Linked DNA regions of Homo sapiens: regions 2, 3, 4, 5, 6 and 7 are each linked to region 1. The links are contacts of gene promoters, found by promoter capture Hi-C in blood cells and fetal thymus (Javierre and others, 2016). All regions are on one chromosome and are shown on one strand. Each heading gives the region's core, a stretch centred on a gene start or on the middle of the fragment in contact. The rest is flanking DNA. Distances are from core to core; before and after follow the strand shown. Region 1 holds the start of GDI1 (GDP dissociation inhibitor 1). Region 2 overlaps HCFC1 (host cell factor C1). Region 3 has its middle 19 kb from the start of IRAK1. Region 4 overlaps MECP2 (methyl-CpG binding protein 2). Region 5 overlaps MECP2 (methyl-CpG binding protein 2). Region 6 overlaps MECP2 (methyl-CpG binding protein 2). Region 7 overlaps DKC1 (dyskerin pseudouridine synthase 1).

Region 1 (3,175 bases), core at 676-3,175:
CCCCAGCCTCCCCAGCTCACCTGACATCCCTGCCACCTTCCCCAGGTTCATTCTGGCCAACCGCCTCTACCCAGTGTCTGCCCGGCACTGGTTTACCATGGAGCGCCTCGAAGTCCACAGCAATGGCTCCGTCGCCTACTTCAATGCTTCCCAGGTCACAGGGCCCAGCATCTACTCCTTCCACTGCGAGTATGTCAGCAGCCTGAGCAAGAAGGGTAGTCTCCTCGTGGCCCGCACGCAGCCCTCTCCCTGGCAGATGATGCTTCAGGACTTCCAGGTATGGAGCGGGCGTGGCCCAGCTTCAGGTGGGGGAGCCCAGGCTAGTGGTTGAGAGACGAAGAGAGGCTTGGGCTTGGGCATGTAGTTGAGAGTCCTGTCCCTGCGCTGCCCCTGTCCCAGTTCTTGCTGGGCCTCCCAACGGTCCTTTCTGACCCGTGTCTGTGTGTCTGCCAGATCCAGGCTTTCAACGTAATGGGGGAGCAGTTCTCCTACGCCAGCGACTGTGCCAGCTTCTTCTCCCCCGGCATCTGGATGGGGCTGCTCACCTCCCTGTTCATGCTCTTCATCTTCACCTATGGCCTGCACATGATCCTCAGCCTCAAGACCATGGATCGCTTTGATGACCACAAGGGCCCCACTATTTCTTTGACCCAGATTGTGTGACCCTGTGCCAGTGGGGGGGTTGAGGGTGGGACGGTGTCCGTGTTGTTGCTTTCCCACCCTGCAGCGCACTGGACTGAAGAGCTTCCCTCTTCCTACTGCAGCATGAACTGCAAGCTCCCCTCAGCCCATCTTGCTCCCTCTTCAGCCCGCTGAGGAGCTTTCTTGGGCTGCCCCCATCTCTCCCAACAAGGTGTACATATTCTGCGTAGATGCTAGACCAACCAGCTTCCCAGGGTTCGTCGCTGTGAGGCGTAAGGGACATGAATTCTAGGGTCTCCTTTCTCCTTATTTATTCTTGTGGCTACATCATCCCTGGCTGTGGATAGTGCTTTTGTGTAGCAAATGCTCCCTCCTTAAGGTTATAGGGCTCCCTGAGTTTGGGAGTGTGGAAGTACTACTTAACTGTCTGTCCTGCTTGGCTGTCGTTATCGTTTTCTGGTGATGTTGTGCTAACAATAAGAAGTACACGGGTTTATTTCTGTGGCCTGAGAAGGAAGGGACCTCCACGACAGGTGGGCTGGGTGCGATCGCCGGCTGTTTGGCATGTTCCCACCGGGAGTGCCGGGCAGGAGCATGGGGTGCTTGGTTGTTTCCTTCCTAATAAAATAAACGCGGGTCGCCATGCGTTGGGCCTCTTGTCGCTCATTTCTGCGCTGGGCTTTAGGCGCGTGCTCGCCGGAGGGATGCGGGAGGATGGAGCCTGGCGAGGGGGAGGCGAAGAGGCATCCGCGGAGACCGGGAGGGGCTTTAGCAAGCTGGGCCCTAACCGCTCAGGGTAGGGAGGGGCGGTCGGGCCGAGTCCCGGTGCGCTTCGGCGTCTCAGGAGGCCGTCGTGACAATGGCAGCCTTCGCGTCGTGAGGGGGCCGCCCCAGGCTGCCGCAGCGGCGCGCGCCCGGCCGCGGGGCCGCGCCGAGACTCCCGGGGGGGTGGGCGGGGGTGGGGAGGTGGGCGGGCGCGCGCGGGGCGGGGCGGGGCGGGGCGCGGCGGGTGGGGCGGGGCGCGCGCGGCTCCCGCGCACGGATTCTTCCTGGGCCGCAGCACCGGCCGCCGGCCCGCCCCGCCCGCCCCGCCCCGCGCCTCTCTAGACTCTCGGCGAGCAGCGTCGCCCGCGGAGCCGCGCTGGTGCTGTGGCCCGGGCCCTGGCAGCCCTCCCGGGAGGCGAGCCGGGGAGGCGGTGGCCCCTGCCGGTTGCGGCGGGGCGCGGGAAGAGGCGGGACTCTTTGACGCGGCGGAGGGGTCGGGCGACGGCCGACGCGCCGCCATCTTTGGTCCAGTGCGGTGGCGGCGGCGGCGGTGGCGGCGGCGACTGCTGCGGTGAAGGAGGAGGAGGAGCCGAGCGGGCGCTGGCACCGAGGCCTGACCATGGACGAGGAATACGATGTGATCGTGCTGGGGACCGGTCTCACCGTAAGTGCGGCCCCGGCGCCCCTGGCCCTGCGTCGTGCCCTCGCCATCCCCCGCGATGATGCGGCCGCCGGCCCATCCTCTGGTCACTGCCATCTTCTGCGCTCCGCTCCCCGAAAAGCCGGCGCCGTGCCCACCCCGCTGCTCCCCCAGCGACGTCGCCTCTGCTCGTTGCCATGACCCCATCTCCCCGAAGAGGCCCCCTTCCTGGCCGCCTCCTGGGCTACCCGGGTCCGACCCCCGGCGCCCTCCCATCTTCCCTACCCCTGCCCGCTGGACCGGAAAACGCACCCCCACTCGGCCCGATGCCCACGACCCCGCCCACCCATCGCCCCCACCCATCACGGCATCCACCCGTCGCCCGCACCCATTGCCCGCCTAGCGTTGCCTCTCAGCGTCCGTTCCCATCTTGCGCTAATCCCGGTGGGGATGAAGTAGAAGGACCTGGGGTCAGGGGGCCTCGCCAGAGTGGGCCCTCAGCCCGCCTCCTCATCGTCTTCTGGGGCCAGGGGATCCAGGGAATGTTCCAGAAGGAACAGCAGTGGGGGCAGTAAGCACATTCCCGCAACCCCACCTCGGTTGCCCATGGAGACCTCAGGCTGGGTAGCATCTGCAGCCTTTGTCCTTGGGCTAGTGACAGTGACTGGTGAGGGTGTTTATCTTCCCCCTTTCCCCGAAAACCCCGTTGGCCTACTCCCCTCAGAGACTCTTCTTCCTCGGTCCAGGCCCAGATGCCCCTCCTCAGCGGCAGGGGCTCCTGCTATTTGAAGAAAGAGCAGTCCAGGGTGGGGCCTACAATTTCAAGGACTGTGCTAAGCCTTTCTTTTCCTCCCTTTCGAGTGTCCTTTGCAGTCCAGCTGGGTCTTCTCTGTGCCTTATTGTGTTTTATCCGCCTTTTTGTGCGGCTCTGCGTAGGTAGATGCCTCTCGGCGTGTTGGTACTGGAAGGCCATCCTGTGTCTGCTGGATGCCCTGCCTCCCTCAAAGCCTCCGTTATTTCACTCTCCGCCTTGTGAGGGGGACGGGACTCCTTTGCCCAGCAAGGTTGCAATGGAGAGTGTGGTCGGATGAAGCCATCACCCCAATTTTAGGCGAGGCAACTAGCCAG
Region 2 (3,387 bases), core at 275-2,774, 470 kb before region 1:
AGTTCTTCTACCCTAGCTCTTGAGGAAGGGGCTGCCAGAAGCTCCCTAGGATGAGTCCAACTGGAACAGGGGACACAGGGTGGGTGAGGCTGCACAGCAGCCCCGAGTCCAGACCCAGCAGCAGGCCCCCGCCATGCACACAAAGCTGGGTATTATATGAGGGCTCCGCAGAGCAAGAGGGGGCGCTGGCTTGGGACTACCTCCAGACAGAGAGTCCTTGGCCACGGGCCTTGGAAAATACCCATCAGGAAACTTGTAGGCAGCGGAGGCTGAGAAGGAACGCGAGCAGCTCTAAGCCGACTCCGAGAGCTGGGCCAGCCCAAGGCAAAGTGGCTTCCACCTCCAGCTTGGCCCTCCTCCCACGAGGCCTGCTCAGGGTCAGTAGCGATTTTGGAGCCCGAAAGCTCCTGAGAGGGCATCCGGTGCCGCTCTCTCATTTACAACCCAGCACGAGAAAGGGACCCGGCCACGGGGCTCTGCTGCGCACATTCTTTAGGACACCATGGAGCCCTGTGCATGTGAGAGCACACCCACCCGGGGGGTTCCAGAGAAAAGGACCAAGCCTCACCTTGGAATGTTGTTCTTTGGGTCCTCGCTATCATTGGCCAGACCCCCAAACAGGTAGCATTTGTTGCCCACAAGGGAGAAGCTGTGCCCGAGTCGAGGACACGGAGGGGGCCCGTTTTTGGGCGTCTTTGCTTTGAGTCTCTTCCACTCCCACCGGCTCGCCTGCAAAATCAAGACCTGGAGACTGAACCGTGGGATGAGAAGGCCACCACTAGGGACCCGGGGCAACTTGTGGTGGAGGAGGAAATGGCCGGGGGTGAGCGAGGTGCCTTGCTGGAGCAAGAAGGTCCTGGGTGTTGGTCCTTGCTGCCTTCTTCTGAGGTGGGCCAAGTTCAGAGCAGCCTTGGCAGACTCTCAAGCGTCCCTTCCACCTCCCGCTTGCCTCAACCCTGAAGCCACTACCGTCAGGTCACATGGGGCCAAGGAGGCAGAGTGAGAACCTGGGGCTGCTTTACCTGGAGTTCGTAGAGGTCATTGCTGTATTTCCCATACTCCACCATCCCACCAAACACCAGGAGGCGAGTCCCGTCACACACGAAGCCATAGGCTGCACACCCAGGGGGAATGTCCCCCCTCACGGCTGGGATGAACCACTGGTTGGTTGCTGGGGAACAGAAGGAGGCAGAAGTCAGAACACCCGGGAGCCCCCATTCCTCTCATTCCCCAAATGTGCCAGCCGTCAAGCTTGGTGAGAGGGGCTGAGCCAGCACCATCCCTGCGGGCGCTCTAGCAACTCCAGCTGCGCTACCTGGGCCATCTTCCAAACCCCTCGACTTCAGGCCAGTGCAAAAGAGCCTGTGACCACCCTGCTTCTCGCCAAGGTCATCTTAATGAGCGGGAAGTTACTGTGCAAGATCCCTCATCAGCTACTGGGAATCTAGCCACTGCCTTCCTTCCCTAGCACTCAGTGATCAGACATGAATTTCTCCCCAAAATACCCTCTTGGTGGGCCTGTGCTCCTCCTCCCTGGAGCCCACATTTTTGTCCCTTCATCACAGGGTCAGGACAGCCAGAGCCCAGAGCAGCACTTTCAAGTGGCCAAAACAGTGACCGCTGCAGGCTACGAAGAGCCATGGGGATGAGACCCGGCCTCTGCTCTGACCTCCCGGACTTCCTCTGGTCTCCTAGGTGATGGTCCACCAGCATCCCTCCCTGCCCCTGCTGCCACACCTATGGTACTCCAGAACATTCTTGCAAGCCAGAGGCAGCAGTCTCAGCAGAGCTGTGACAGAAGCTTCTCAAAAGCTCATGAGGGTGAGGCGACCACCAAGAAAGAGGGAAATCAGACCTTAGGCACTGCTTTGCTTCCACAGGATGGCACAGCAGCCTTCAGCTGGGACCAGGCCCCTCCCTCATGTCCTCAAACTTGACTCCCCTCACACCTGGCAGGCCAGGGCTTCCCCGAAAACCTCCTCCTATGAGGGGTCCCTCAGAGGATTCACCACACTCTTTCCAGAAACCCCAAACTGGGGGCCAGGTGCAACCCCGACTCTGTGCCTCTGAGCTGGCCTGGGTGAGATCTCAGCAAGCAGACGGCAGAAGGAACTGAGGCCCCTCCACATGACTCAAGACGCAAGATGGGTCCCCCAGGACGTGACAGGGCATGGGGGGATTCCTGTGGGGTGGGAAGGCTTCCACACAGGGATGCTGTGATATTGTGATATAATACAGACTATTCAGTTTGGTGGCCAAAAGTGTTGTGAGACCATAGAAGAGGAAAAACAGTGTTTTTTTTCCATATTCAGGTGTGCACCCAGGGCCAGGCGGCTGACCATGGTTGGGAATGCATGCCCCACTGCACTCTGGTCCCACCCAGTCTCACACTGTCACCCCCAGGGCTCAATGCGGAACCGTGTGCAAGGCTAGCCCTTATCCAAAGCACAACTCCCAGCCTGGGTAGCACAGGGAGACCCCGTCTCTACAAATAATTTTAAAACACTGGCTCAGTGTGGTGGCATACACTTGTGGTCCTAGCTACTCAGGAGGCTGAGGCGGGAGGACTGCCTGACCCTCAGAGTTTGAGGCTGCAGTGAGCTGAGACCGCACCACTGCATCCCGGCCTGGGCAACAGAGCAAGACCTAACCTCAAAACAAACAAACAAACAAAAAAAACAGAAAACCCCACACAGCACAACTGTACCACCACCGCTCCTCCTGAGGCGAGAGCACCCCCACCCCGCTCTCCAGCACCCACTCTGCGGGTAGGCTTCGAGCAGGCTGACAGCCTCTGCAGCCATTCAGCTGAGTCACTGGGCCTCGGACATGCCGAGCACTAGAGCTCCCCTGCCATTTCCCTAAAGCAGAGGGACAACACCTGTGCCGCCCGCATGTGCAAGCTCGGATCCTGGCCCTCTGCCTCTTTCTCATTCCCAGTGCAAAAACCACCCCAGAAAAGCAAGAGCTGCCAAGGCCAACAGCCTTGCGCACTGGAGAGCCGTCCTGACCAATCCCTGGAGGGAGCTCCATGCAAGCTACCAGGGTAAACGCATAACGAGACCTAAGGCTGCCTGGGCCAACTGCTCTCGGTAGGTAAAGGGGCAGAGCCCAGGAGGGCAAGCGACACCTGAGGTCACAGCGTAAAACAGAGACAGAGACAACAGCCCCATCACTGACTTGAAGCAACCGATCTGTGCCTTCCCTAGGGTCCCATGTCCAGGCAGCCACCCTCACTCCCCTGAGCACCCTCGTGGTCAAAGCCCACAGCTATGGGGCTGCGGGTCAGAGTTTGGGACAAAGCTAAATGGCACGTGGGGTCAGTGGGCAGCTTTCCTATCACACGCTGATCAGTGAGCCGGTGGGCCAGGCCAGAAGCGCCCTGTG
Region 3 (3,387 bases), core at 358-2,857, 440 kb before region 1:
AGCACAAGTCAATTCGCTTGCAGGACCAACACACCCATGCTCCTGAAAGATGAGACTCGCAGAGCCCGGCCCGAGACTGCACCCAGCCGTCCAAGGCTGACCATGCTTCCCACCCGGCCCTCCCCACGCCGGCTCGGACTTCGGGCATTTTCTCTCCTCCTTTCCTCCCTGGTGATCTGAGGCCGGCTCTGTCGGGGGAGTGTTCTTCCTCTTTGCAGTGAGTCCAATAAACTCAGCTTTGCCTGAACAACAGGTTTTTCTGGTGGTGATTTTGGGGAGTCTACAGCCAACAGCTGAAATTGGGAAAACGGGGCGGGGGTGGGGAATCCCTTTTTGTTTTTTGTTTTTATTTTTTACAGTAAAGTGAAAGCAAGTTTATTAGGAAGATAGAGGAATAAAAGAATGGCTGCTCCATAGACAGGGCAGCTGGGAATCCCTTTTAGCACCTGGTGGCTGCAGATGGGTAGAAATACAGACCATATTTGGTTCTTAGTTTAATTAGCCAGAGACGCAGAACAGGGTGGGAAGCCAGACGGCCACACCTAGCACCTCATCAGGCTGCAGCCAACCAGGGCCTCTCGGGGCTGGGAAAACTCGATTCTTGCTGTACTTGGGCTTACTCGGCTCTCCATCTTATGCAAACACCTCTCCTTATGAAAGGCAAGAAGAATTTGTTCTACACTGGGGATGGGTTGTGCCTGTCACATGGAGCAGCCTGGGGACCTAGAGGGACCCTTTAGAAGCTTAGCACCTAGCAATTCCTTTTCACATGTGACTCATGGTCTATTCAGTTTTAGTACTTCTTTTTTTTTTGACAGAGTTTTGCTCTGTCACCCAGGCTGGAGTGCAATGGCGCGATCTCTGCTCACCGCAACCTCTGCCTCCCAGGTTCAAGTGATTCTCCTGCCTCAGCCTCCCAAGTAGCTGGGATTACGGGCACGCGCCACCACGCCTGGCTAATGTTGTATTTTTAGTAGAGACGGGGTTTCTCCACGTTGGTCAGGCTGGTCTTGAACTCCCAACCTCAGGTAGTCCCCCTGCCTCGGCCTCTCAAAGTGCTGGGATTAAAGGCGTGAGCCACCACGCCCGGCTTTTTTTTTTTTTTTTTTGAGATGGAGTCTTGCTCTGTCGCCCAGGCTGGAGTGCAGTGGCACCATCTCAGCTCCCTGCAACCTCCGCCTCTTGGGTTCAAGCAATTCTCTGCTTCACCCTCCCACGTAGCTGGGATTACAGGTGCCCACCACCATGCCCGGCTAATTTTTGGATTTTTAGTAGTGACGGGGTTTCACCATCTTGGCCAGGCTGGTCTTGAACTCCTGACCTCGTGATCCATGGCGCCTGGCCTACTACTTCTTTATTCATTTATTTTTTGAGACGGAGTCTCGCTCTGTCACCCATGCTGGAGTGCAGTGGCACGATCTCGGCTCATTGCAACCTCCACCTCCCGGGTTCAGCTTCCCGGATAGCTGGGACTACAGGTGCGCGCCACCACGCCCAGCTAATATTTTGTATTTTGTAAGTAGAGACGTGGTTTCACCGTGTTGGCCAGGGTGGTCTCAAACTCTTGACCTCAAGTGATCTGCCTGCCTCGGCCTCCCAAAGTGCTGGGATTACAGGCGTGAGCCACTGTGCTTGGCGCAGTTTTACTACTTCTTGAGACAACTCTGAAGATTTCTATTTTTCACAGAAAGTCATTCAGTTAATCTAGACTTTTCAAATGTATTGCCATAAAGTTATATTTACTATTTTAAAATTTTAATTTCCTCCTTAACCCAACATTTATTTAAAAGGGTCATTTCAGCCGGGCGTGGTGGCTCACGCCTGTAATCCCAGCACTTTGGGAGGTCGAGGCAGGTGGATCACCTGAGGTCAGGAGTTTGAGACCAGCCTGGGCAACATAGTGAGACCCCATCTCTACAGAAAAATAAAAAATTAGCCGGGCGTGGTGGCACACATCTGTAGTCCCAGCTCCTCGGGAGGCTGAGATGGGAGGATCACTTGAACCTGGGAGGTCGAGGTTGCAGTGAGCCATGATCGCACCACTGCACTCCAGCCTGAGTGACAGAGCCAGATCCTGACTGCTGCTCATAGAGATCTCGCCTAAAGATCTTGCCTAAGTGCAAAAACACACACACACAGAAACTGGAACAACCGAACTGACCCTTTGGGGAGGCTGGCGAAATAAATGACATGGAGTACATTCATACAGCTCTAAAAAAGGACAAAAGTCAGGGACATCTGTGTCCAGGGAACACTCTCGATTTGTCTTGTTAAGTGAAACTGGCGAGGCGTGGAATCATGAGAGAAGCGTGAGTAGAGGGGACTTAAACCAGGGACTGGTGGCCACAGCTAGTGTTAGCCAGGGGACTGGAGGCTGGGAGACTGAGAAGGAGATTTTCTTACTTCGTACGTGTCTGTACTGTTTGGATTTTTTTTTTTTTTTTTTTTTTGAGAGGGTATTTTTTAAAAGGAAAAGCTTGTTTTGTTTTTCTTTTTAAAAAATAGGCTCTAAAAATTCTGGAGAGAAATAAAAAAGGCAACATGGTGGCCGGGTATGGGCGTCTCTTCTGATTCCAGGCTGGTTGGCACTGGCCACCTTGCTCAATGGTTGCCTTAGAAACCGGCCTAGCGAGGGGGTGTCAGTTGTCTCTGGTAGCCATTAAGGCAGTGACTCAGCAGAAAACCCAACCCAAGAGGGAGTTGTTCATTCACTGACTTTCCTTCTCTCCCAGAAAAGCATGGGTGAGGCCATTTCTGTTACATTTGCGATCGGGTGGCAGCTGCTCCGCCGTGAAGGCGGTAGCGAGAAGTCTGCCCGCTCCTCCAGCCTCTCACTAGGTGAGTGGCGTCTCTGTGCTGCCCTGTCCCTCAGAAACCACAGGTTCCGGTCCCTCTGCCAGCCTGTCCCCTGTCTCTCCCCTCCCGCTGACAGGGTGAAACCAGCTTCCGCTCACAAGCACTTGCTGGGGGTTGCCACAGGCATGGCTCTTGGGGAGATCTTTAGTAAAAAACCCAACCAAACATCACGAGTGGAACCGAGTGTGGATCATAAACTCAACTGAGAGAAAAGCCAAGGGACGCATGTGGGCAAAATACACAGAAAACCCAGCATGGGCGCGGGGGCTCTCGCCTGTCATCCCATCACTTTGGGAGGCCAAGGCGGGTGGATCACTTGAGGTCAGGAGTTCGAGACCAGCCTGGCCAACATGGTGAAACCCCATCTCTACTAAAATACAAAAATTGGTCGGGCATGGTGGTGGACACCTGTAATCCCAGCTACTCGGGAGGCTGAGGCAGGAGAATTGCTTGAACCGGGGAGGCGGAGGTTGCCGTGAGCTGAGATCACACCACTGCACTCCAGCCTGGGTGACAGAATGAGGCCCTGTC
Region 4 (3,387 bases), core at 597-3,096, 410 kb before region 1:
TTTGGGTGGCTTCTGGCTGATCTGGGCAGGGGTCATCTGTTCAGCTCTCCCCTCTCATCTCAGTCACCATCCCCCTCCCTCCGAATGCTTTTGTTTGTAAAGAAAAAGTGTCTAGAAATATTTGTCTCTGGAACAATTACTTTAAACATAGTTACAATACAGACTTCAGTTCAAACACAGAAGAGATTTACTTAGCAAAATTCCTTTCACCCACCAAAAATTACACAAATATAAGCCTCAACACCACAGTTAAGAGGACCAGTAGAGAGAACCTCATGTTTGGAACACAAAAGGAGAAATAAAAACCAAACCAAACCCAAACAGAAAAACCCCAGAAAGACAAGTAAAGGGCAAAGAAGGAAGGGGAAGGGGAGCAAACACAGCACACGTTACAGTGTCCAGATACACGGGAGCCCAGCATGGGCAAGGGCTCGGCACACATTGAGTAACAGTCCTGGTGATATTTGGTCATATATTCATTGACTACTGACTCTGGAGCGGCTGTTATTGATTGAAGCAGTGACAAATCAAACGGAAAGGAGGCCGTGGTAGCAAGGGAAGGAGCAGGCTTCAAGTTCTGCAAGCCTTTTGCACTCCACTGTCCAGCTCCCCAGAAACACTGAACCGGGTGGGCCCCGCTCCATCCGGGCAGGGCTAGAGGTCACCGGGTGAGGCTAACTCGGGCGTCGATTTCATGTCAGTCAGAAAACACGCACGTGGACGCACGCAGACACCCACCTGTTCACGGCCAAACATCAGCGGCAACGGCCTCCTCGCCTCCTCTGCCCCTATCCCAGGCTGGGTGGGAAAGAGCATCATGACCCACTGCTAACACTGAACACACGCCGGAGCTGGCCCCGGATGTGGGCCCAGAGGCTGCCCCAGCCCTGGTCCTCCGAAGGGCTCACGGGTAGCCCGGCCACTGAAAGGGCCTATGGCTGTTTTTCTTTTGGATTCAGGCCTCAGAAGAAGCAATGACAGCAGGGAGGGAAGCTTTTGGCCCTGGTGATTATAATGCTCTCTGCTTTGGAAGAACAAGTTTCTGGATTTTTTTGGTGTTTCTAATTATTAAAAAAAGATGATCAAAAAGAACTGTTACAGCTAAACTCTCTAGCAGATATTGCTCATTAAGAATTACAAAAGCAAATGCAATTACTCGTAGGATGGGGGAGAAGAAAGGGACATTTCTGGAGTCTTCACTACTCCTGGAGGGGACCCCTTGGACTGACGCACATGATTCTGGGGTCCCTGGCGTTCTACCTGGTGCAGCTCACAGGTTCCGAGACAGGCCAGGCCTCCCGTCTCCGCTCCAGCCCCCAGGCTCGACAGAGTGGGAAGGATGAAACACACTCGGACCCTACTGGCAGGGAGGCCTGCGAGGCTGACTCCACATGGGCTCACCCTGACCAGGTCACGGGAAGGGGACTGGGGGAGTCAGGCCACCCCAGTGGACTCCAGCTCCCAGAGGTGGAAGGCGACCAGGCTGTGCCGACTACGTTCCGGACTTCAGCAGGTCAAGGGAGCGCTCCTGCACCCAGAACCTTGGGACCTCTTTCACAAGCACGGGAGAAACAAGAGTGCAAAACCTGGGTGCTGCCTGGAGCCTCCTTCACCTGGCACAGGAAAGCCCTTGAAAGAAGCGAGGAAAAGACCACGAATCTGCTTGGACAGAAGAAGTGACCAGCAGACAGATTTGTCGTTTTTTTTTCTTTTTTTTCTTTTTTTATTTTCCCTTGTCCTATGCTATGGTTATCAGAAATATTGTAATTAAGCAACAGGTATAATTTTAACAGGTCTTTTTTTGTGTGTGTGGAGCCACAAGCAAAATGAGTTTATAATTGTGCAATATACAGATATATATATAAAAATTCAACTGCTTTGTGTGTCTAGTCGGTGCGTTAAATAAAAGGGACAGAAAAACTAAAAGCAAAACTAAAAAGCAAAACAAAAGCCCAGGATAGAGGAGACAAAGCAGGCCTATGCGCACAGTCTATGTGTTACTGGATATAATCAGGGTCACCAGGAAGAACAGCTTTGCCACTTGACACACAAACACTGCGGGGAGAGGGGCTATCAGTGGGCAGGAGCCAAACCTCTTGGCCTTTTCACCTCATCTGCTCTCACTGCTGAGCAGGACCTGATTAAAGGTAGGACAGAATGGGGGTTTGGGGGCAAAGAGATTTCCAAATTCCCCAAATGTTCTTGAATTCAAAGGTAGGATTTCCTCCAGGGTCTGGGCTCTGCCTGTGCACAAGTCGGAGCCCGGAGCGGGAGCTGGGGGTTGTGCTCCCTCCTTGCACTGCCCTCACACCTGCTTCCTTCTGCCTCCTGACAGGGCAGGCAGGGGGCCTTGGGGAGGCAGTGAGAGGCCAGCTCAGAAGGCTCAGCTGATCCGAGGCGAGCAGAGCAGGAGTGGGCAAGGCAGGCTGCCCCTCAGGCAGAAGTGCCTTCCTAGTTCCCTGGGTGTTTTCCTGACACGTCAGCGCTGGGGCAGGCTCTGTCAAGATGAGAAGAGTGGGAAGGAGGGTGGTGCTGGGCCTTCCAGGTCACTGGTGAACGCTCCACCTTCCATACCACTCCCAAAAGACAGGTTCAGAAGCCATGTCCTCAGGTCGGCTACCTCCAGATTCCCCTTGCCTGTAATGCTCACCAGGCATCTCAGGCCAAGTGCTAAGTATTTTTAGATCAGCACTGTTGTAAAAGCTTGCTCGTATTCATTCAAAAACATCGAAATGTAATTTTCTGCCAAATGTTTTCTAGGTTTTCCTTCTAAATTGTTGAGAACTGACTTCAGTGTTCAGCTTTTCCCCTCTAATATGTAATTTTAGACCCTGGGGGAGGCAGTATCCTAACGATTTATAACAAGTAGACTATGCCTTTTCTAAAGATTGATACAATATCTAAAAGAGAAAGACACCAAAATGGAGAGAATCAACAAATCCCGTCAGAGCAGAGAGAAGAGTAGGAAGACCCGGAGGGAGCAGGGCTCTGCCCCCCCACCGGGCAGGTCCTCCAGACCCACTCCATGGTAGGAACTCTAGAAACAGCTGACTCCCTGAAGTCTAGGACACAGGTCCTAGAATCTGCAGGTGTGAACTTGAAACAGGAATCCATTTGGGGCAATGACACAGGCTAAAAATGTATATGCCCAAAGATCTTCTTAAAGAACTGGTACCTGTAACCTCCCCTGGCCCAGTCAGCCCAGAGAGCCTGACTGGAATGCTCTGGAAAAGGAGCTGTGGTTAGACGGGGGACACAGAGTTCTGGCTGTCAGGCTCCACTTGGGCTAAACCAATTCCAGATGGTCCCGCGCAGGGGACTCCGCTCGTATCCCTCTGCTCCCTCCTGGGCTTGAGCCGCTTACTAAGTGATTTAAAATTCAGAGAT
Region 5 (3,387 bases), core at 445-2,944, 390 kb before region 1:
AATCGAATACAACACACAGTCCTGGACTCTGCATTCCAGGCTCAAAGGCTCTAAAAAAGGCATTTATGGGGTATGTGGAGAAATGTAAGGTTCTGTGTTAGCTCATTGCTAAACTTCCTGAGTGTCTTAACTGTACTGTCTGCTCTTAGGAAAGGCATGCTTAAACGTTTAGGAGTGAAACAGCACGAGGACTATGACTAACTCTCAAGTGATCAATGGGCTAGGGGAAATACAGTGCCAATATGGTAACATGTTTAAAAGAAGGGAGATGACATCAATATAATCAGAAGCTATGCCAACTGACAGTAATATTTTGAAGCAGTGGTAGGCAAGCTTTTTAACAATTAAAGAGAATGCCTTCATATTACACAAAGACATTAAGAAAAAAAGCTGAAGGCTGGGCACGGAGGCTCACACCTGTAATCCCAGCACTTTGGGAGGCTGAGGTGGGCGGATCACGAGGTCAGTTCGAGGCCATCCTGACCAACATGGTGAAACCCCCTCTCTACTAAAAATAAAAAATTAGCCAGGTGTGGTGGCGCGCACAAAGGGACCGGGGCGGTGCTGGCGGCGATGCCAACAGACCTCAGTGTACTGTGGGGTTCTTTCAGCCAGAACTGTTCATGGTTTCATCAGTGAGCTCCAGTTACCACACCACACAAGTTTGGAGTGATCCACCCCGCCCCAGTTTTTCCTGCACGAACTCATGTTTTTATTGTGTGATTTACAGAACACAAGATCTTTTTCTAAGAATGCACACATCACACGTTGAAGCAGAAAGGCCTTTACAAAATCTTAAAATACCTACAAAATATGAAGTAAGGCTCTTAAGAAATAAAATATTCAATGATTTTGCTGCTAGAATGCAAACATTAGATCAAATCCTTCATTTGATCTAGCAAAGGAAAATTAGAGTTGCAGGAATCTTGTTTTCAGGCCAAACCATGACATCCTGAGGGGTCTGATGGCAGGAACTGCCTGCATTTTCCTCATGAATGTGACCTGCAGTGATCTTGTGAGAAAGGCCCGGAAGGCCGTGCAAATTACAGGGGTACAAGCAACAGCTGGCAGGTGTGGCCAGACAGGCAACTGCAGTTAAGGAAAGACTACTCAATCCCTGAGGTTTTCAGATTTTACAAAAAGGCAAAAAAGCCAGGTGAACAAGGCAGATGAAAGGTATTTTTCACTTGAATTGGAATCCAGCCCCCTCCCTGTCCCCTGGAGTGAGCTCCAGAGAAACTTCCAGAGCCCCAGCAATATCCCAACCTTTCGTAAATTCACTCATGCTCGCCACTTTCAGGAGATGGCATTTCTCAGCACCTTTCACTTCCAGTTATCCCTCGGCACAGCACAAAGAGCTAAACTACCACTCGAGGCAGTTAACCTAAGGGCAGGGTGGTGGCTACAGCTCCAGGTGAACAGTCTGGGACCAGAGGAAATAATGAGCCCCCCCTTGTACTGGCTGCTTCCACCCTAAAGTGTCATCCAGATGGTGTTTCCAATTCTTTCTACTTCCAGTATTAGCTGCAGAATTACGGAATCAAGGAGGCTTCTCTGCATGAATCAATAAAGGCTATAGCACTTTGAGACACAAGCTTTGGCCCTTTAAAAATGTGAGAAATCAAACTGGCACAGGCAGAGTGTCTCAGTGGTCTCCAGGGAGCAAGAGAGAATGAGGTTCAGCTTGAAGGCTACAAGGGTGGAGCCTGAGGTTCAGCTGCCCTGCTCTGAATTCGCAGTCCATTTCTTAATCCTCCACTTTTGAGAAGATGCGAGAAACCAGTTATGTTTTGCTAAGCTTAAATAAAATGCAGTTCTTGCCAACCAAAAGCAGAACCCTCCCCAAATACAGGCAACCAGTGCCATACAGCAAATCTCATCTTTATAGATGTGTAAAATGAAAACCGAAACACAAGCCCACCACATACAGGTTAAAAAATTCCTGCTGTGGAGAACAGTTTGGCAGTTTCTCAAATGTTAAACATGGAGTTACCATATGACCTGGCAATTTTACTCCTAGCCATACACTCTCAAAAAGCCACAACTATGCCGGGTGCGGTGGCTCACGTCTGTAATCCCAGCACTTTGGGAGGCTGAGGTGGGTGGATCACCTGAGGTCAGGAGTTTGAGACCAGCCTGGCCAATATGGCGAAACCTTGTCTCTACTAAAAATACAAAAAAATTTAGCCGGGCATGGTGGTGAGTGCTACCTGTAGTCCCAGCTACTCAGGAGACTGAGGCAGGAGAATTGCTTGAACCTGGGAGGTGGAGGTTGCAGTGAGCAGAGATCGTGCCACTGTAATCCAGCCTGGGCGACAGAGCAAGACCTTGTCTCAAAAAACCAAAACAAACAAACAAAAAACCAAAACCAGTAACCAAACAGATATCCGTACACCAGTGTTCATGGCAGCACAGTTTACAACAGCCAAATGGTGGGGGCAACCCAAATATGCATTCCCAAGGGATGGGTGGATAATCAAAACCTCATTATCTATAGGATATAATATCATTCAGCCTCAAAAAGGAAAGAAATTCTGACACATGCTACAATGCAGATGAACCTTGAGGACATTACGCTCAGTGAAAGAGGCCAGACACAAAAGGCCAAATAGTGCATAATTCCATTTATAGGAAATGTCCAGAATAGGCAAATCCATAGAGACAGGAAGTGGATGAGTTGTTGCCAGGGGCTGCGGGTAATAAGAGGTGACTGCTCCTGTGTCTGGGGTTTCTTTTGGGTGCTGAAAGTGTTCTGGAATGACACAGAGGCGATGGTTGCACAACTCTGTGAATGTACTAAAAGACACTGAATTGCACATTTTATTTTTAAACAATTTTTTCTGTGAGCCTATGAATTATACTGAAGAATGAATTGTACACTTTAAATGAGTAAATTTCATGGTATGTGAATTATATCTAAATTAAAAAAAACAACAACATTAAAACAGCAGCTGACCACCAATTATTCTAAATCATAAAGATAGGTTTTGTGATGCCTGGCCAGTGCTCAGAGCCCACACAGCTGTCTCAGAGCAAGTCTATCTGGCTGTGGCACAGAGCCCCGGCAGATAGATGGGCTGTCCGTCTGAGGAAGAGGCCAATGTGGGGACCTATAGTGATACATGACAGACTGGACCAAGCCAACCTGAATGTGAAACTCTGAAGCCCAGGACACAATAACCATGACAATCAGAAAGGAATTTAGTTCAAGAAGTTTAATGAGTAGGCATTTAGCCAAGTGGAAGGTTGTTGGCTATTCTGAGGACATTTGATCTTTTTTTTTTAATTGTGGTAAAATACACATAACATAAAATTTATCATTAATAGCATTTAGTACATTCACAATGTCATGCGACCATCACTACTCTCTAGTTCCAAAGACAACCC
Region 6 (3,387 bases), core at 588-3,087, 380 kb before region 1:
TTGTCTCTTCTGGCTACAGAGGTTGCAAAAGACGTCTGCAAGGGTCAGTGAGGGCCCAAAGGAGTAGTAACCAAGGCCCTGAAGCCTGCCTGGGAGCTGAGGTGGGCAGTATCAGCCTCTTCTCAATAATCAGTTCCTAAGGTTCCATCCGAGAAAGTAGAAAACCACAGAGGCCATTCTCATGGGTACTTTAAGCAGTACATCTGTTGGCAAAACACAAATGTTGTTACACAAATACTAAGCCACAGATTGCAAAGGCACCTGACAGCCTTTAAAATTCATTTCTCTTGTTTCGCAAAGCTGCACTGGGAAACTGTGCTGTTAAATTCTACACTCATAAAGGAGGTATGTTTTAAAAGAGGGGCAAATATGTGGGTGCTATTTAGACTCTCATTGATTTGTTCCATGTTTTCAGATAACTACACACCCCTCCGCCCCCGCCAAAGTAACTCAATCTCCACATATTTGCCTTTATATGTACCTTCTAACTCATGACTATGGCTTTGATTATCTCATAAACAATATTGTTCCTGTTAGCCATGGAGAAGCTAAGGAGCCAACAGCAGAGCAGGCTGCATGTTCTTCTGTCCCTCTTATAAGACAAAACCTTAGAGCAATGTCCCACTGCAGAATTTATTTGTTAATTCACTCAATAAATTAAAATATGCATGATTCTAGGCACTGGGGATATATTGAGGAAGAGGCAAAAAAAAAAATCTCTGTCCTCATGGGACTCAGATTCTATAGGGGTGGGGAGAGGGAGGGAGGGGAAGGGAGTGGGAGAGCACAAACAAAACCAAGCAGTAACACAGCTTGTGGCAGATGGTGACAAGTCCTATGCTAGGCAGGGGGAACTGGTGGGGCAGAGGCAGGCTGCCTGACTTACAGACATGGGTGTGCTCGGGGAAGGCCACATTGGGAAGGTGACACTTGAGCAGACATGTGTGATACCTGGGACAGAGGGCAGAGGAGAGGTCAAGGCCTTGAGGCAGGGGCATACTTGGAGGGTCCAGGGAGGAGCCAGGAGGCCAGTGAGGCCGCAGTGCATGAGTGGTGGGAGAGTGGCAAGAGAGGTGATCCTGTTGGGCTGTGACTCTGAGCAAGCAGGGACCCACTGGAGGGTTCTGAACAGAAGAGCACAATATTGCAGGACTAAACAAAGAACCAGGGGGCAAGGGCAGAGGCAGGGAAGCTGGACACCTGGACCAGGGTGGGGGCCATGGAGGCAGGGGAACTCATGAGATTTTGTATCCATCTTGCAGGTGGAGTAACAGTATTTGTGAACAAATGAGGTAACCAGCGCCAGGTTTCTGGCCTGAGGAGCAGGAGTTGGAGTTGCTGTTTACTGGAAAGGAGAAGACCAGGGAAAGAGAAGGTCTAGGGAGGATAAGGAGTTCCCGTGACCCAGTCAGCCTGGAGACATAAATTTGGGAGCCATGAGGCTGGACGGAATCACTTCGGGAGTGAGGGTGGAGAAGAAAAGCCTGAACCTGAGGCCTTCCAACATCACATGCGAAACAGAAAAGACCGAGGAGGACAGACATTCACACACTCACCTAGGACTTCCTGAGGACCCACAGACACCAGGCACTGTTCTAGGAGCTTGAGCTACATCTGTGAATCAAGGAGACAATCCTGTCCTGTGGAGCTTCTGCTCCAGCAGGGGTGACAGCTAAGATAAGCACAGTCAGTCATGTATTCAGCTAGAAAGAGACAAAAGCTGTGGTTTGCACTGAGAAGGTGCACATCAGTGCAGAGACTCAAGGGAGGGAAAGGATTGTCTCGTATGGGTATTGGGGTTAACTGACGACGACAGCTCTGGGAAAAGAAGTGACAAGCAGCTCCCAGATTTAACAACATGAAGGTCATCACTGGAGACCTCATGGAGCAGCTTGGCAGAGCTGTGGCAGCAAAGGAACAACTGGAGAAGGTTGAAGAGGGTGTGGAGACAGGGACTGGAGTCTTGCTGGTAAAGGAAAACAGAGATGCTAGACAGGTGGGGGGTTGGGAGCAGCTTTTGTCAAGGTGGGAGAAGTAGCAACAAGTTTCTAGGGCAGGCGAGGGAGGAATCTCTGATGGGGGAGAGTGCAGTAGAGGACTGGAGAGATGCCTTAGAACAGGAGTGAGGGCCTGGGACAGGCGCTCCGTGACAGCATGAGGGAGGCAGAGCGAAGGAGTAGACGCTGGCCTGTAGACACTCTCTTGAGCTTGCTTCTGTGCTCTCTGGGAACTAAGATATCAGCTGCAAGGAGGTGTGACAGCTGATGAGGAGGGTGGGAGGGGCTAGGAGAGACCGGGGAACTGCAGTATGCAGGTGGGCTTGGCGGCAAGAAGTTTACCTGGGGTAGACATGAACTTAAAGGGGGAATCAATGAAGGAGTCACATTCAGCTTCAGGACGGAGCAGGCATGGGGCAGACATGACTGAATTTCATGAGGCTGGGGCTTTGTCGACTGAATATAACAAAGCAAGAAAGTGCCGAAGGGCTGAGGTAGTGTGCCAGGGAGTAACGACGTCTGACTGGCACTGAAGCTACAAAGGAGAGGAATAAGGATACGAAGGAGGTGAAGTCTGAGAAAAGATGGAGCCACTGATGGATTCTAAGTGCCTGTGAGGTCAAAGGAGTATTGGAGTTGGGTATTAGAGGCAGTGAAAAGGAAAAGGATCTCCTTTTGCAGATCACAAAAAAGATAAAATGACCAGAGCTAAACAACTTTTACAGCACTATCCACTGTAAAAGTTGTTTGAGAAAAAATAAAATGTAGCCAGCCTTCAGAGCATATATGCATCTTTATTTTATTTTATTTATTGAGACCAAGTCTCACTCTGTCGCCCAGGCTGGAGTGCAGTGGCACAGTCTCAATTCACTGCAACCTCCGCCTCTGGGGTTCAAGCGATTCTCCTGCCTCAGCCTCCTGAGTAGCTGTGATTACAGGCACCCGCCACCACACCCGGCTAATTTTTATACTTTTAGTAGAGACGGTGTTTCACCATGTTGGCCAGGCTGGTCTTGAACCCCTGACCTCAGGTGATCTGCCCGCCTTGGCCTCCCAAAGTGCTGGGATTACAGGTGTGAGCCACCACACCCAGCCCAGAGCATATGCATCTTTAAAAAGTTGTCTTCGGCCAGGCACGGTGGCTCACACCTGTAATCCCGGCACTTTGGGAGGCAGAGGCAGGCGGATCACCTGAGGTCAGGAGTTTGAGACCAGTCTGACTAGCATGGTGAAACCCCGTCTCTACTAAAATAAAAAAAATTAGCCAGGCGTGGTGGTGCATGCCTGTAATCCTGGCTACTTGGGAGGCTGAGGCAGGAGAATCGCTTGAACCCGGGAATGCGGAGGTTGCAGTGAGCCGAGATCACACCATTGCACTCCAGCCTGGGCA
Region 7 (3,387 bases), core at 347-2,846, 340 kb after region 1:
CTTGACTGTGGACCTTTACCAGATTTCCTTCTGGGAGAGTCATAGCTTTGTTAGTGGATGGTATCTGTGAGCTTTCATTCTCTTTCTTTCTAGGACAGTGATACCACCAAGAAGAAGAAGAAGAAGAAGAAAGCAAAAGAGGTAGAATTGGTTTCTGAGTAGTGAAGGCCACTTGAAGCTGGAGGAGAAACTAAAGCCTTATTGAGAAAACATGTTATAGATCCTTTTGTTGCTGAGAGAGTGGAACATAGGTCCTAGACAGGGTGAAGAGTTCTGGCACATTTTAGCTGCTACTTTGAGACCTCGGTGATGTTACCTGGTGTGGTCATCCCATCTTGTCCTGTTTTAAGGATATGGGTGGTGAAAGATGAAAGAGGCAGAGTTTATCCCAATGACTTCTCTGTTTGAGTTGGGAAGCCTCACCTTCAGACCCAGTAACTGTCCGCAGCTGTCTGCTAGTGGTTGTCTTAACATCGTAGTCCTAGTTTGCATTTTTTAAATCCCCTCTGTTTAAAAGGTTTGTAAAACAAAAACAAAAAACTAAGTCTGCTCAGTGAAATGCTGTAGAACCCTAAATAAGTGGTAGAAGAGTGTCACTGAATTTTGTCTCTGAATTCAGTATAACTGAGTTTTGTCCATGCTGGTGTCTGGGTTATAGGCCTGATGGGCCTGGTAGTTTTCCATCTTGTTCTGGCCTAGAGGTCAGTCCTTTGCACTTCCTCAAAGCTTGTGTACAGTGCTCACCTAAATCCATCTGACTACTTGTTCCTGTGCCCTCTTGTTTTAGGCCTCGTTTACTTTTAAAAAATGAAATTGTTCATTGCTGGGAGAAGAATGTTGTAATTTTTACTTATTAAAGTCAACTTGTTAAGTTTTTTATGTATTCCTGTTGGGTTTTCTTGTTGATCTCATGCTAGCAGAGCAAAAATTGTAAAATATTTTGATTAAAAATCTAGGGACCTTTATGTCCTATTTGAAATGTGATGCTTTTATGTTTGTTTTCTGGTTTTTACATTTTTGTTCTGTATCTTACACAATCCACCTTGGGCCCTGTCATCTGATGTGAGATCAAGTACTCAGAGGCAGTGATTACCACAAAACCACTGATCTCTAGAAGAACAGAGAAGGAGAGGGTTAATGTATTTATACATAGTGGGCCTGGCAGGAGCGGGGGGCAGGGTGAGTCGGGAGAACGAAGCTGAGGGTGGGGACATGCAGGAATCTGAAGGCCTTGGTGACAGATTAGTGGAAGAAAGGTCTAGGGTTGCTTCCGATTTGGTATTAAGAACCAAGAAAGAGGCCGGGTGCAATGGCTCACACCTATAATCCCAGTGCTTTGGGAGGCTGAGGCGGGCAGATCACCCGAGGTCAGGAGTCTGAGACCAGCCTGGGCCAACATGGCAAAACCCATCTCTACTACAAATACAAAAATTAGCCAGGTGTGGTGGCGTGTGCCTGTAATCCCAGCTACTCGGGAGGCTGAGGCAGGAGAATCCCCTGGAACCTGGGAGGTGGAGGTTGCAGTGAGCCGAGATCCTGCCACTGCACTCCAGCCTGGCAAAACAGACTGTCTCAAAAAAAAAAAAAAAAAAAAAAAAAAAAAAGCGCTCTTGGATGCAGCGAGGCGAGGCCCTGAGCTGTAGCCATATCATGAGCCAGGCATGCAGGGTGGGCCCCAGCCCTGGCTCAGCGACCGGCCTCCACTGTACCACGGGACCCCAGGCTTGGATTTTCTCTCGTTCTAAATATGTGCCCACAATGAGCGCTCCACTAGCTACAACAACCTTAAGGGTGTTTTTCTACATGGGCACTAGCCAGTAGAGCCCTGCAGTGGGGGCAGAGAATGGGGACTCTTCCAGGGCACCAGTGTTTATCATCTGAACACAAGAGAGGCATCTTGTGTTAATGCTGTTGTCCAGGAGCTTAAGTGAAATGGGCCACATTTCTTTTTGTGTGGAAACCCAGAGTTACAAGGTCATTGGCATTTCAACACAGCATTTTTATTGCTTTTGAAGGTTTCCCTAGAGCAGACATCATTCTATTGCACAGATGTGTCATTTTGGCATTATAGAAAGTTGCAGTTAAAAACGCTTTCTCCAAAATAAAAAGACAAATGAAATACCCAGCATATACAGTTGAAGGCAAAGGAGGGCAGGCTTTAGAGGGATGGGGTCCATTGCTTTTGCTGTGCATCACCCTTGATTAGCAGTTACATTTTGGTAGTACTTCTTACCCCCAATTTCTAGAAATCCTTTTCAAATCCAGATCAGTGGGGCCCCATCTATCAGGAGAATCAACCCTTCAGGAGCCTGAGCAAGAAGACTGAACCTTACTGGCTGAATTAGGATAGCTGCAGAGAGCTGGAAGCTGACACAAAACTAGTTGGAGCAGCCCTGTTTGTCTTAAAGCAAGGCGGGTGGAATTCCAAATGCTGGAGAGGGGCATACAGTGGGTTCCCCCATTCTACAAGCTTAGTAAACCCAGGAGACAGGCACCCACTGTGGAGAACTGCACGCTTGGTCGAAGGCTTCTTGTAATTTCTTAAGGGTTTCATCAACACCATTATTGACCAGTGAGAGGTCAAAGTAGTGAGCGTACTGGCTGCGGATGGCCTCAGAGTCCTTCTGCAGCTGCTGCAGGGCTTCTGTCTGCAAAGAAGAAAGCCACAGATGAAGCAAGCTGCACCACCCCCAGCCCAGAGAGGCCAGTGACAGATTTTAAACAGCAATTGTTAGCGTTGCTCAGCTGTGCATCATACTTGACGAGTCAAATTCAGAAGACATTGTGAAAGAATGTTAATGTAGGGCATGAAGAGGCAATCTCAAAAGACCATGGCAATTCTCAGAGGATCTCAAGCTAACCCTGACTAATCAGAGTCCTCTGGAGGACCAATAGCTATGCAGAGACAGCATGGACTTCACCAGCATCTCCCACTTAATGCCCTTTGAACATGGAAGAGCCATTTCAACAACCACCAGAGCTGCAATCCTAAAACGAAGATAAAGGTGATTTTGTTGTTTTGTTTTGTTTTGAGACAGTGTCTTGCTCTGTGGCCCAGGCTGGAGTGCAGTGGCACAATCTCGGCTCACTGCAACCTCCGCCTCCCGGGTTCAAGCAATTCTCGTGTCTCAGCCTCCCGAGTAGCTGGGATTACAGGCATGCGCCACCACATCTGGCTAATTTTTGTATTTTTAGTAGAGACAGGGTTTTGCCATGTTGGCCAGGCTGGTCTGGAACTTTAGACCTCAGGTGATCCGCCCGCCTCGGCCTCTCAAAGTGCTGGGATTACAGGTGTGAGCCACTGCACCCAGTCAGATAAAGGTGACTTCTAATCCCAGATCACACCTGTAATCCCAGCACTTTGGAAGGCCAAGGCAGGATGATTGC

Evidence for each region. Contacts are between HindIII fragments. The CHiCAGO score rates a contact against its expected background, and 5 or more counts as called.
Region 2: a contact is called between a fragment that was not itself captured here and the fragment with the promoter of GDI1 in region 1, in 9 of 17 cell types (total B cells, activated CD4 T cells, total CD4 T cells and 6 more). The highest score is 8.5, in total B cells.
Region 3: a fragment that was not itself captured here is called in contact with the fragment with the promoter of GDI1 in region 1 in 4 of 17 cell types (naive CD8 T cells, monocytes, total CD8 T cells and 1 more); the score reaches 8.2 in naive CD8 T cells.
Region 4: a fragment that was not itself captured here is called in contact with the fragment with the promoter of GDI1 in region 1 in 3 of 17 cell types (monocytes, total B cells and total CD8 T cells); the score reaches 6.2 in monocytes.
Region 5: a contact is called between a fragment that was not itself captured here and the fragment with the promoter of GDI1 in region 1, in 10 of 17 cell types (total CD8 T cells, naive CD8 T cells, naive B cells and 7 more). The highest score is 12.4, in total CD8 T cells.
Region 6: a fragment that was not itself captured here is called in contact with the fragment with the promoter of GDI1 in region 1 in 5 of 17 cell types (naive CD8 T cells, neutrophils, naive B cells and 2 more); the score reaches 7.9 in naive CD8 T cells.
Region 7: a fragment that was not itself captured here is called in contact with the fragment with the promoter of GDI1 in region 1 in 1 of 17 cell types (M0 macrophages); the score reaches 5.2 in M0 macrophages.

The regions. Positions count from the first base shown.
Region 1 is chrX:154,435,229-154,438,403 of GRCh38, forward strand. GDI1 (GDP dissociation inhibitor 1) reads left to right here and starts at 1,926. Exons shown (of 11, transcript NM_001493.3): 1 at 1,926-2,071. The coding sequence starts at 2,027. It overlaps ATP6AP1 (ATPase H+ transporting accessory protein 1), which reads left to right. Exons shown (of 10, transcript NM_001183.6): 9 at 46-277; 10 at 454-1,288. The coding sequence ends at 663. RefSeq lists an enhancer at 1,458-1,958. The HindIII fragment of the contact is 14,364 bases long and covers 1-3,175 here.
Region 2 is chrX:153,963,556-153,966,942 of GRCh38, forward strand. It overlaps HCFC1 (host cell factor C1), which reads right to left. Exons shown (of 26, transcript NM_005334.3): 2 at 1,023-1,171; 3 at 569-729. Among named protein-coding and RNA genes, the nearest start is that of HCFC1-AS1, 3.5 kb to the right of the region's middle. RefSeq lists enhancers at 2,125-2,783, 2,784-3,387. The HindIII fragment of the contact is 550 bases long and covers 1,250-1,799 here.
Region 3 is chrX:153,999,671-154,003,057 of GRCh38, forward strand. No RefSeq gene overlaps it. Among named protein-coding and RNA genes, the nearest start is that of IRAK1, 19 kb to the right of the region's middle. RefSeq lists enhancers at 555-1,055, 2,601-2,745, 2,698-2,747 and a cis regulatory region at 2,668-2,678. The HindIII fragment of the contact is 1,733 bases long and covers 742-2,474 here.
Region 4 is chrX:154,023,027-154,026,413 of GRCh38, forward strand. MECP2 (methyl-CpG binding protein 2) reads right to left here. Exons shown (of 3, transcript NM_001110792.2): 3 at 1-3,387. Among named protein-coding and RNA genes, the nearest start is that of MIR718, 4.7 kb to the left of the region's middle. The HindIII fragment of the contact is 1,710 bases long and covers 992-2,701 here.
Region 5 is chrX:154,040,486-154,043,872 of GRCh38, forward strand. All of the region lies in intron 1 of MECP2 (methyl-CpG binding protein 2), which reads right to left. Among named protein-coding and RNA genes, the nearest start is that of MIR718, 22 kb to the left of the region's middle. RefSeq lists an enhancer at 563-1,063. The HindIII fragment of the contact is 203 bases long and covers 1,594-1,796 here.
Region 6 is chrX:154,059,794-154,063,180 of GRCh38, forward strand. The region is part of intron 1 of MECP2 (methyl-CpG binding protein 2); the gene reads right to left. Among named protein-coding and RNA genes, the nearest start is that of MECP2, 36 kb to the right of the region's middle. The HindIII fragment of the contact is 6,601 bases long and covers 1-3,387 here.
Region 7 is chrX:154,776,706-154,780,092 of GRCh38, forward strand. DKC1 (dyskerin pseudouridine synthase 1) reads left to right here. Exons shown (of 15, transcript NM_001363.5): 15 at 94-984. The coding sequence ends at 162. MPP1 (MAGUK p55 scaffold protein 1) reads right to left here. Exons shown (of 12, transcript NM_002436.4): 12 at 1,979-2,648. The coding sequence ends at 2,472. Among named protein-coding and RNA genes, the nearest start is that of SNORA56, 3.4 kb to the left of the region's middle. The HindIII fragment of the contact is 1,744 bases long and covers 725-2,468 here.